4 separate regions of the Homo sapiens genome follow, and all the other regions are linked to region 4. Evidence: promoter capture Hi-C in human tissues and cell types (Jung and others, 2019). All regions are on one chromosome and are shown on one strand. Each heading gives the region's core, a stretch centred on a gene start or on the middle of the fragment in contact. The rest is flanking DNA. Distances are from core to core; before and after follow the strand shown.

Region 1 (3,134 bases), core at 625-3,124, 760 kb before region 4:
TGACACGGGCCTGGTGTGTGTGGGGGCTGTATAGGGCTATAGGGGCTTTACACCCATGTTTCTCTGTGGTCTTATTTGTACTTATATTCTTCAGAGTTTTTCCTAACTTTTCCCTTATACAATTTGTTGACTGCCTTTCTTGTGCTGCTTTTACCCTTACAATTAGGTGGAATTTACCACCTAGTGGTAAATGGTACAATATATCATGGACTATTATAAAGCATTGAAATCTGACTTTTTCCTCTACATTTGTATTTAGTTTATTAATTTAGTTAATTCACGTTTTATAAATATAAAATATTAATTTAAAAACAAAGGCTTTTATCTCTTAAATTTCACAACCGTTATATTCACAGTTATATGCATGTTTGACATCACTGGCTTTATGGTCATCAGAGCTGCTTTTTGAGTCATCTAATTTTCAGAGCACATCATCTTCACTTTCAGCCAAAGTTAGCTGTGATTCAGCTTTTTTTAATCTGTGTAGGATGTTGTCACTGGAAATTTTACCAAGAGCTATAAAAGTTTGCTCAAATACTATGATAGAAGTTTTTTCGTTTGTTCTGACTATGAATATTTACAACCTCTTCAATGTAATTGTTCATTGCTTTTAAAAAACATATCAATATCTTATTTTTGAAAAACATTTAATATAAAGCACTCTTACATATGAAGTGAAATGAATAGAAAATGTATATGATTTTAATGTTTTTTTTTTTTTTGAGACGAAATCTCGCTCTTGTCCCCCAGGCTGGAGTACAGTGGTGTGATCTCAGCTCACTGCAACCTCCGCCTCCCGGGTTCAAGCGTTCCTGCTGCCTCAGCCTCCCGAGTAGCTGGGATTACAGGCGCCTGCTACCACGCCTGGCTAATTTTTGTATTTTTAGTAGAGATGGGGTTTCACCATGTTGGCCAGGCTGGCCTTGAACTCCTGACCTCAAATGATCCGCCCGCCTCGGCCTCTCAAAGTGCTGGGATTACAGGCGTGAGCCACCACTCTGAGCCTTAATTTTGGTTTTTTAAAAAGTCATTCAAAAATATGCCTGGAAGGAAATACATCAAAATGTTAACAGTAATCTCTTGTGGTAGAATTACAGCTAACTTTTATTTTCCGGATTTTAAAAATTCTTCATAATAAATAAACTTTATTTTTATAATCTGAAAAAAATTTTTCAAAGCGTTTATCCTAAGAATCAAAATGGCTTAACATTAGAAAACTCATTAATGTGATTCACTGTATTAACTGATCATAGTAGTATAACCACAGGACTTGGTGGTCAATTTGATGTGGGAGAAATGGAAATGTCAGAGGAATTTCTAGAATGCTTGATTTGGTAACATGGAGCCTAGGAAACATTGTAGGATGGCAGAGAGACAAGTATGGGTTTGGTTTCAAGTAAGATGGGTTTACGTGCAGGCATATCAGTAGAAATGCATATGGTGGTAGACGATTGGAAATAGAGGAGATCTGGAGTTTAGGAATATGGGAAATGATCATACAACTTTCCTCAAGTAATTCACAAACTACCTGGGAGATTTTTAGTACACAGAGAAATTAAAATGAATTAGTGTAGTTTGTTAAAATATATCATTCTAAGCCTGGCATAGTGGTTCTGCCTGTAATCCCAGCACTTTGAGAAACTGAGGCTGGAGGATCACTTGAGCCCAGGGATTCAAGACCAGCCTGGGCAACACAGTGAAACCTCATCTCTACAAAAAAAAAAAAAAATTCGTCAGGTGTGGAGGCTTATACCTGTAGTCCCAGCTACTGCAGAGGCTGAGGTGGGAGGATCTCTTGAGCCCAGGAGGTTGAGGCTGCAATGAGTTGTGATTGCACCAGTGTACTCTAGCCTAGACAACAGAGGAATAACCTGTCTCTCAAGATAAAGAAATAAATTAATTAATAATAATAATAATTCTATAAGTGTAATGAAAGAGGAAAGGGAAATCAGTAATAAGGAAGGACGTGTATTTCAGGACCATTTTAGGAATCAGGTGGCATATTGAAGGTTGATGATGGATTGAGATTTAGACGTTCACTAGGGAAATATATAGGTTAAAGCATATGATTAAAATATCTAAACTTGTCAAAGTGAGGTTTTCCAAGCATTCAGAGAAATTGTTTGGCTAGTTTAAATGACTGTATTATCCTTAACCAAAGGATTAGCTAAATAAACATTTTGAATGGGTGCTTATCATTTATCGAGTATTTACTATGTCTCAGGCACTGTTCTAAGTGCTTTATATGAATTAATAGCATTTAATTGTCATGAAAATCCTGAGTTAGGTACTATTTTTAGCCCTATTTTACAGAGGAGGAAATGGAGGCATATAAAGGGAACTGCAGTAGTAAAATGGTGAAGCCAGTATTTGAACCTGGGCCATTTAGCTCTAGTCTGTCTTCTCAGCCGCTGTCTTAAATTGTTACTCTCCATTTGTATACAAGTTTGTTTACAAATTCCAAAATAATATCAGTAATTTGAGGTATATGCTGTTCCACTGAGTTGTTGATTCTCCTTATGTGTTTTATTTTTGAAACAGAGTCATTTTCTGTCACCCAGGCTGGATTACAGTCACAAGATCATAGCAACTGCAGCCTCAATTTCCTAAGCTCAAGCAATCCTCTTGCCCCAGCCTTCCAAGTAGCTGGGACTACAAGTGTACTCCGCCATGCCTGGCTAATTATCTCATTTTGTGTGGAGACACGGTCTCATTTTGTTGCCTAGACTGACCTAAAACTCCTGTGCTCAGGTGATTCTCCTGCCTTGGCCTCCCAAAATGCTGGGATTACAGGTGTGAGCTACTGCGCCCCACCTGTCTTTATTTTGTTCATAAAATTCCACACTCTTTCCACAAAGGTCTGTATCGACTACCTGTAACTGAACTTCTCAATTTCATACTAATTCAATGTGCATTTTTGAAATCAAGTGATAGTATTTCTCAGATTTAAAAAAAAAATGTATTTTCAATGTCAAGTGTTAATTCGTCTCAGGTATTAAATAGGTAGTTAAAAAATATTAACATTTGGCAGGGAGTGGTGGCTCACACCTGCAATCCCAGCACTTTGGGAGGCCGAGGCAGGTGGATCATGAGGTTAGGAGTTCGAGACCAGCCTGATCAACATGGTGAAACCT
Region 2 (3,304 bases), core at 777-3,276, 510 kb before region 4:
GGTTTCATTTCCATCGCCCAGGCTTGAGTGCAGTGGCACGATCTTGACTCACTGCAACGTCTGCCTCCCAGGCTCAAGCCATCCTCCCACCTCAGCTTCCCAAGTACCTGGGACTACAGGCGCATACCACAGTACCCAGATAATTTTAGTACTTTTTGTAGAGATGGGATTTCACAGTGTTGCCCATGATGGTCTGGATCTCTTGGGCTCAAGAGATCTGCCTGCCTTGGCCTCCCAAAGTGCTGGGATTATAGGTGAGAGCAACCACGTCTGACTTATTATTTTTTTTTTTTTAAATAGAGACAGGGTCTGGATCTGTTGCCCAGGCTGGAGTGCCATGACTCCGTCATGGCTCACTACAGCTTTGAATTTTTGGGCTTAAGCAATCCTCCTGCTTCAGCCTTCCTAGTAGCTAGAACTACAGGCATGTGGCACCACACCCAACTAATTAAAAAAAATTTTTTTTAGACATGGAGTCTTGCTATGTTGCCCAGGCTGGTCTTGAATTCCTGGCCTCAAGTACTCCTCTTGCCTTGCCCTTCCAAAGTGCTGGTATTATAGGCATGAGCCACCACTCCCGGCCAATGTATCTTGAATAGAATGTGACCCAGAGGTTGGCTTCTCCATACTCATCACTTACAGACTCAGGTTGATATGGAACATATTTTTCCATGGGGAAATACTGGTCAATCATGAAGCCTGACTTTCCCATCCAGTGTAAAGGCAAGTGTGTTCTTAAGTATGTATTGAAGAAACAATTAATGAAAGGGTCCAAATCTTCCTATGACAGGTAGGGTTGCCAAATAAATCACAGGATACCTAGTTAAACTTGAATTTCAGATAAACAATGAACACGCTTCAGATAAACAGCATTGATATTTGTGACATGCATTTAAAAGACTATTTATTGCTGGGCGTGGTGGCTCATGCCTGTAATCCCAGCACTTTGGAAGGCCAAGGCAGGCAGATCAAGAGGTCAGGAGATTGATACCATCCTGGCTAACACAGTGAAACCCTGTCTCTACTAAAAATACAAAAAATCAGCCAGGCATGGTGGTGCGTGCCTGTAGTCCCAGCTACTTGGGAGGCTGAGGCAGGAGAATTGCTTGAACACGGGAGGCGGAGGCTGCGGTGAGCCGAGATCATGCCATTGCACTCCAGCCTAAGCAACAAGAGCGAGACCCCATTTCAAAAAAAGAAAAAAAAAACTATTTATTGTTTATCGGAAATTCAAATTTAACTGGGCTTCCTGTTTGTTTTTGTCATTGTTTTCTAAATGTGGCAACCCTAATAAGAGAAGATTTTTCAAAGAGAGAGCTATTCCTCAGGGATGTTATAAAAAGGTCTAAGACATGTGGGATGGTCTGTATCTGAGGTATTTCAGCTGCCTTCTGCAGGTGGGGGAATTTATTCCCGCTTAATTATGTATTTTGCATGTCTTAAAATTCATTTGGTGCTTAATCTCATACTCGAAATAACTGCAACTGCTACTGCTCTGCTAGGGCTGTTACTGGCTACTCTATCAAACAGTGCACTCCATTTGGGTAATCTGAGCAGAGTTTAACAGAAGGACAATTTACAGTGGTTCAGCGAGCATGTAAGGAACTGCCAGGGAGAGCACAATGACCCACAGCAAGGTACCATTACCTCATCTAGGCTTGAAGGCTGTGTGGGAAGGGACACTTTGCAGGCCTTGTGTCCAACTGTCAAGAAACCTTGACAGCCCCATGGCAACCCTCCAGGGAGGGAGCTGGAGAATACACGCCTCACTTTCCCCTTCTTTCCTTCCCCCATGCTCCTACTGGGCCTCTCAGGCAAGCAAACCCAGGCAGAAGCCATATAGGCTAGCCTCCCAGGGCAAGGGAGCCTGGAGAAGGACAGAGAGCATGTGGAGAAGCCAATGGATGAATCAAGTCTGAATATGTGCTCTGTGCTTCCAGCACCATTAAGCATTTCACATAATCACCTCATTTGAACCTCATGACTGTCCTACGAGGAATGCACCATTATTGTTCCCTTTTACAGATGTGGTAAAGGATTAGTGATCTTGAATAATTTGTTCAAGGTCACAGAATCCCAATACACTCACCCCCCATCACTGTATAATACTTCCTGCTGACATCTTTAATTATCCTTATTTATTTATTTTTTTAAATTCATGGTGTTTTAACAGTTTCGTTTTTCTTGTCATGTTGCCAACTATTAAAACTTTGCCCAGACCTAGTTTAGCAGCCAGTAAACAAAATATGCTCACTCGGTGTTTGTTAATTTTTGTTTTTGTTTTTATTGTTTAATGTTTGTTAGTTTTTGTTTGATTTCTGACTTGGGAGAGCAGCAGCAGCAGGAAGTCCAGATTTAGGAGTTGGGTCATTCAGTTGTTTCCTTACAGAAAAGCGGCTAGAGGAAGGCACCCAGCTCAGAATATACCTGGCACAAGGAAAGGCTCATTAAGCCAAGGTTCGAAGAAACCCCAAAAAAGCAATTTTACAGAATCTTAGACTCGGAAGGGACTTTAGACATCACCTACAACCTCTACCCTATGTGTGATTCCTCTCCACAATTCAGTCCCTGTTCTTGTCCCTAGGGTTACCTCTTCTAAATAAACATCAAGAGAGTGTCTGGCCAAGAGATTCGTGGAGGGGTCCACAATTCCCTCGCATGATTCTTTTTGTGACCTAAGAATTCCATTTCACTTCTGAACTTTGATATGCCTTGGTTTTCCCACTCATAACATGGAGGTAGGTAATGTAAAATATATCAGTCTCCATTATCTCCTTAAACAGTTATAGTGCTTCCTGAAGAAAGTGCCAAGCTGTGCTGTTAGAAAGAGTAGGAGCAAACTAGGAAGCTGGCACCAATTGTACAGTTAGGTTTCTGACATGTAAAAATCAGGAGAAGGGAAATGTGGGTTGGAAGCTTTAATTGTGAGCGGAGAATGAAAGCTGATTCAGTTAGTGTGTAATGTAATTTGGAAAGTGGAAATAATGAAAGGGAAACAGTTTTTATTTCTGGGAAATGAAACAGAAAGAAATACAAGTAACGAGAACAACAGCAACAGCAACGACAAAGCCAAGCCCATTACCCACAAAAGCTACAATTTTTTCTTGTATTTGGGTCTTTGAATTGCTACTCTCCCCAGAAAAAAAATAGTTTTTAATTGAGTTTGCAGTTCCCTTTGAATTTCATAAGTGATTTACACTATTAAGTTTACTTTAATTTTAATTAAATATATAATATATATTTAGTTAATATGTAATATATATTTAAACACACACATATCTTTCTTCCAACATTCACATTAGGA
Region 3 (2,950 bases), core at 229-2,728, 990 kb before region 4:
GAGGAAATACAAAAATACTTCGAAGAAAAAAAATTTGGAATGTCATAGATGCAAGTTGAAAGAAATCTTAGAGATGATGCAATCTAGTGGGTCCTAAAGTGTAGAACATGAGGAGCCTTTATGTGGTACACTGGCAAATCATTGAACAAAGTAGAATCACACAGGAAAAAATCACTCCCTTTTCATTTCTGTGTCAGGTTTTTTTTATTATATTAAGGAGAACAGCTCAGCTTATGTAGACTTTAAAACCTCTCTAACGTTGCTTATTTTAATAAAGAGAGCAGGCCTGGGGGTCAGAGTCTCCAACAGGCAATGGTCTCTTTGTAGCATTTAATAAAATTGTTTTAGTTTCACTGTTTTAATTTTTACCATGATTTTGACAAGCAGTATTGATTTCAATTTGTGATAGTAATATTTTCTTTTATTTATTTATTTTTTATAATTTTATTTTTTTAATTTTATTTATTTATTTTTTTGAGACAGAGTCTTGCTCTGTCACCCAGGCTGGAGTGCAGTGGCACAATCTCAGTTCACTGCAACCTCCACCTCCTGGGCTCAAGCGATTCTCCTGCTTCAGCCTCCCGAGCAGCTGGGATTACAAGTGCCCACCACAACACCAGCATAATTTTTGTATTTTTAGTAGAGGCGGGATTTCACCATGTTGGCCAGGCTGGTTTTGAACTCCTGACCTCAAGTGATCCACCTCCTTTGGCCTCCCAAAGTGCTGTGATTACAGGCATGAGCCACCATGCCTGGCCTGATATTTTCTTTGAAAAGGCATTAATTGAATAAAAAGAAAATAAGTTCAAAGAAAATCTTAGGCAAATAATATAAGTGGTATATAGAAGAAGAAAAAAATTGTAAAGGTTGTATGCAGAATATTGAAGCCAGGAAATGCTGATCTGAAGAGACTTCACATTTGAGTTTAAACCTGATGGAAAGACACATGTGAATATGAGAAGAAACCCCCCAAAATGGTATTAAGATAAAACACAAACCTGTCACTGGTAGCTAGTATAGTGTATTCCTCTAAGCAGACATATTTGCACAAGCTATAAATGGATGTGGCCAAGGGGTTAGCAATAACAAACTTCAGTGACACATTTCTTCAGAAACTCTGCTTTATATTTGCATACTTAACCTACAGCATTACCAGAATCAACATTTCCCTCTCTCTTCCTCTTACAAAATAGTCCTTGGGGACTGCCCATCAGTTACAGATGTTTCAGCACATTTTTCAGTTCATGACCAGAGAAAGGATAATCCTGTAAGAATGGAGGAAATTTACATATAACATTGCATACATTCTTAGTCTAAATAACGATAATAGGCCGGGCACGGTGGCTTATGCCTGTAATCCCGGCACTTTGGGAGGCCGAGGCAAGGGGATCACCAGAGGTCGGGAGTTCGAGACCAGCCTGGCCAACGTGGTGAAACCACATCTCTATTAAAAATACAAAAAATTAGCCATGCATGGTGACACGCAACTGTAGTCCCAGCTACTAGGGAGGCGGAGGCACAAGAATCTCTTGAACCCGGAAGACAGAGGCTGTAGTGAGCCAAGATCATGCCATTGCACTCCGGCCTGGGCGACAGAGTGAGACTCCGACTCAAAAAAATATAAAAAAGAAAAGATAATAAATAATAATTCTTGTAACTGGATTTATTTGTAAATCCAAGGATAAATGCTTGAGGGGATGGATACCCCATTCCCCATGATGTGCTTATTTCATATTGCATGCCTGTATCAAAACATCTTATGTATTCCACAAATATATACACCTACTATGCATCTACAAAAATTTTTTAAATTCAAAAAAATTTTCAAAAAAAATTATACCTCTTGGATTTCTGCCTCTGGCTCTAACTAAGTAACATGTGGTAGATTAGTGCTCCTGCTAAGAACAACTTGAAAAGCCAGAAAACATAATTTAAAAATCTATTTGAAAGCATTAAGTGCATTTGAAGTTGATAGAAAATTGCCAAGATTTGAGAGTAAAAGATCACAGAGATGAGACTACTTTAAAAATGTGGCCCACAAAACAGAAAAACAATACAGAAAATCAACGAATCCAAGAGCTGGTTCTTTGATAGAGGAAATGGTAAAATTCACAAACTTCTACCATACTGATTCAGAAAAATATGAAGAGAAGACACAAATTACCAATACCAAAAGTGAAAGAAAAGGCATCAGTGCAGATCTAAAGGACCTTAAAGATACAAGGGTATATAATGAACAACTTTATGCCAATAAATTTGACAACTTAGATGAAATAGACAATTCATTGTAAGACACAAATTACTGAAATTGACCTGAGAAGAAATAGAAAACTCGAACTGCCCAATACCAATAAAAGAAATTAAATTCATAGTTGACAGCTTTCCACAAAGAAACTCCAGGCCCAGATGGCTTCACTGATGAATTCTACCCAATATTTTAAGGTTATAATCCTACACACACTTTTTCAGAAAATAGAGAAGGAAGAAACATCAAATCATTTTATGAGGCCAGTATTACCCTTAATCCAAAACGAGACAAAGGCATCACAAGAAAGTAGGATAACAGAACATTAGCCCTCATAACATAGATATAAAATTTTTTTAAATGTTAGCAAATTTAATCTAACAATATATATAAAGGATAATACATCATAACCAATGGGATTTATACTGGAAATGCAGGTTGGTGTATCAGGCAAAACCCAATTAATAGAGAGAACTAGGTGGAGGTTCCAAGATGGCTGAATAGGAACAGCTCCAGAATACAGCTCCCAGCGTGAGCGACGCAGAAGATGGGTGATTTCTGCATTTCCAACTGAGGTACAGGGTTCATCTCACTAGGGCTTGTCAGACAGTGGGTGCAGCCCACGGAGTGTGAGCTGAAGCAGTGCAGGGCATCGCCTCATCCAGGAAGTGCAAGGGGGTCGGGGTATTCCCCTTCCTAGCCAAG
Region 4 (3,015 bases), core at 1-2,500:
CCTCAAAAGTGATTTGAAAGAAGGAACATCTGAGCTGGGCCCAAACCCTATTGCAATTTTATTGGGGCCAAAGAGAACTCCATGCTCCTGCCAAATCAAGGCAGTGTCAGCCTCAATAATTTCCCAGATAAAAATAAAAATCTGTGATACAATCAGAATGTGAAAATTCTTATTTTGGAAGCAAATGTCATAACCAATGCAAGGGCTATCTCAATATTCATTCATTATGCAGTATTTTGAACTGCAGTTGAAATGAATAAGAAGGAAAGGCAAACAACGAAGAGTCCAATTTCTCAATTTAGAAAAAGAGAAAAAAAAGAAAAGGGAGCACACAGGCACGGTGGCTCAAGCCTGTAATATCAGCACTTTGGCGGATCACTTGAGGTCAAGGAGTTCGAGAAAAGAGAGCACCTAGAAGTTCAGCGCGGGATAATACTTAAGTAAATTATGACACCATCGTCTGTCATCTTGGGCCCATTCACTAACCCAAAGCTTTCAAAAGGGCTTTCTTAACCCTCACCTAGAATAGGCTTCCGCAGCCTTAATCCTTAGGGTGGCAGAATATCAGGGACCCTGAGCATTCTTAAAAGATGTAGCTCGGGATGGGAAGTTCTTTTAATGACAAAGCAAATGAAGTTTCATTATGTCGAGGAACTTTGAGGAAGTCACAGAATCCACGATTTAAAAATATATTTCCTATTATACACCCATACACACACACACACACCTACTTTCTAGAATAAAAACCAAAGCCATATGGGTCTGCTGCTGACTTTTTATATGTTGTAGAGTTATATCAAGTTATGTCAAGATGTTCAGTCACCTTGAAGAGGCTTTTATCAGAAAGGGGGACGCCTTTCTGATAAAGGTTAAGGGGTAACCTTAAGCTCTTACCCCTCTGAAGGTAAAATCAAGGTGCGTTCAGATGTTGGCTTGTTGTAAATTTCTTTTTTTATTAATAACATACTAAATGTGGATTTGCTTTAATCTTCGAAACTCTTCCCGGTGAAAATCTCATTTACAAGAAAACTGGACTGACATGTTTCACTTTCTGTTTCATTTCTATACACAGCTTTATTCCTAGGACACCAACACTAGATACCTAAACTGAAAGCTTCCGCCGATTTCACCGAAGGTCAGGAAAGTCCAACGCCCGGCAAACTGGATTTGCTGCCTTGGGCAGAGGTGGGCGGGACCCCGCCTCCGGGCCTGGCGCAACGCTGAGCAGCTGGCGCGTCCCGCGCGGCCCCAGTTCTGCGCAGCTTCCCGAGGCTCCGCACCAGCCGCGCTTCTGTCCGCCTGCAGGTAGGGAGCGTTGTTCCTCCGCGGGTGCCCACGGCCCAGTATCTCTGGCTAGCTCGCTGGGCACTTTAGGACGGAGGGTCTCTACACCCTTTCTTTGGGATGGAGAGAGGAGAAGGGAAAGGGAACGCGATGGTCTAGGGGGCAGTAGAGCCAATTACCTGTTGGGGTTAATAAGAACAGGCAATGCATCTGGCCTTCCTCCAGGCGCGATTCAGTTTTGCTCTAAAAATAATTTATACCTCTAAAAATAAATAAGATAGGTAGTATAGGATAGGTAGTCATTCTTATGCGACTGTGTGTTCAGAATATAGCTCTGATGCTAGGCTGGAGGTCTGGACACGGGTCCAAGTCCACCGCCAGCTGCTTGCTAGTAACATGACTTGTGTAAGTTATCCCAGCTGCAGCATCTAAGTAAGTCTCTTCCTGCGCTAAGCAGGTCCAGGATCCCTGAACGGAATTTATTTGCTCTGTCCATTCTGAGAACCCAAAGGAGTCCTAAAAGAGGAATGGAGGAGCCTAAGAATAAAAATAGTATAATAAAACATTTCTTAGACACATTGACCTTGGCCTATGTCAAAGTTCAGTCTGGGTTTGTCTTATAACACAAGGAGTAAAAGTACCATTGTTCTACCTCTTTTTTTAATACTTGAAAAAAATTTACTGTGGATGCTTTTCTATGAATTAAATAACCTTCTAAAAAATGTTTTCATTGCTGCATTCGATTAGATTGGGTAACTAAATGAAATTAATTCCTCACTGTTGGGTATAAAGGTTATTTACAGTGGTTCTGTCTTAGCCATTCACTGAACTCATTGCATATATATCTCTGGAATATTGCTGATTGTTTCCTTCAAGTAAACTTAGAAGTGTAACTACTTAGTCAAAGAGCCTGAATATTTTAAAGGCCTTTTGAAGAAAACTGAAAATGCTTTCCAGAAAGGATGTATCAGTTGACAATGACAGTCGTCAACAGTATTTAAGGAGAACTATGATACTCTGAAGAAAAACTTAGCCTTTCTCAGTAAAAGTAGGTAGGCAGAGGCCACATGACAGCAGTTAGAGTGTGGTCTTCAAGGAAGTCACAGAAATACTGTGGGGAATTGAAACCCCATGTGGAAAATGTACAAGAGTGTCTCAGTGTGACTGAGAAGGAGGTTGGGCATGGGGTTTCATGGAGTTTAATAAAGTTTGGTCACTTAGTAGAGGTTTAATAAATCAACTGTCTTAATCTTTGATCCTACTTAAGAATTTTTTTTTTGTTTTTGTAGAGATGGGGCTCTTGTTATGTTGCCCAGGCTGTTCTCGAACTCCTAGCCTCAGGCGATCCTCCCTCCTCAGGCTCCAGAAGTCCTGGGATTACTGGCGGGAGCCACCATGCAGGCCTCTTGCTCCTACTTTTGAGAAAGGAAGTTTAACCGGTTTTTTTTGTCTTTTTTTTTTTTTTTTTGAGACAGAGTCTCACTCTGTTGCCCATGCTGGAGTGCAGTGGTGCAATCTCAGCTCACTGCCTCCCGGGTTCAAGTGATTCTCCTGCCTCAGCCTCCCGAGTAGCTGGGACTACAGGCACCTGCCACCACGCCCAGCTAATTTTTGTATTTTTAGTAGAAATGGGGTTTCACCATATTGGCCAGGCTGATCTCGAACTCCTGACCTCAGGTGATCCGCCTGCCTCGGCCTCCCAAAGTGCTGGGATTACAGGCATGAGCCACT

The links. The method cuts DNA at HindIII sites, captures the fragments that hold promoters and counts their contacts. A contact is called where the count stands out against the background at its distance.
Region 1: a contact is called between a fragment that was not itself captured here and the fragment with the promoter of CD274 in region 4, in 1 of the 25 tissues and cell types used here (spleen).
Region 2: a contact is called between a fragment that was not itself captured here and the fragment with the promoter of CD274 in region 4, in 1 of the 25 tissues and cell types used here (lymphoblastoid cells).
Region 3: a fragment that was not itself captured here is called in contact with the fragment with the promoter of CD274 in region 4 in 1 of the 25 tissues and cell types used here (lymphoblastoid cells).

What each region holds. Positions count from the first base shown.
Region 1 is chr9:4,691,565-4,694,698 of GRCh38, forward strand. All of the region lies in intron 3 of CDC37L1 (cell division cycle 37 like 1, HSP90 cochaperone), which reads left to right. Among named protein-coding and RNA genes, the nearest start is that of CDC37L1, 14 kb to the left of the region's middle. The HindIII fragment of the contact is 4,245 bases long and covers 1-3,134 here.
Region 2 is chr9:4,933,540-4,936,843 of GRCh38, forward strand. No RefSeq gene overlaps it. Among named protein-coding and RNA genes, the nearest start is that of JAK2, 50 kb to the right of the region's middle. The HindIII fragment of the contact is 7,942 bases long and covers 1-3,304 here.
Region 3 is chr9:4,463,937-4,466,886 of GRCh38, forward strand. It overlaps a transcript of GLIS3 not described here. Among named protein-coding and RNA genes, the nearest start is that of SLC1A1, 25 kb to the right of the region's middle. RefSeq lists enhancers at 1,198-1,247, 1,258-1,307, 2,093-2,162. The HindIII fragment of the contact is 6,998 bases long and covers 1-2,950 here.
Region 4 is chr9:5,449,292-5,452,306 of GRCh38, forward strand. It overlaps CD274 (CD274 molecule), which reads left to right and starts at 1,251. Exons shown (of 7, transcript NM_014143.4): 1 at 1,251-1,305. RefSeq lists enhancers at 1,028-1,077, 1,368-1,527. The HindIII fragment of the contact is 6,419 bases long and covers 804-3,015 here.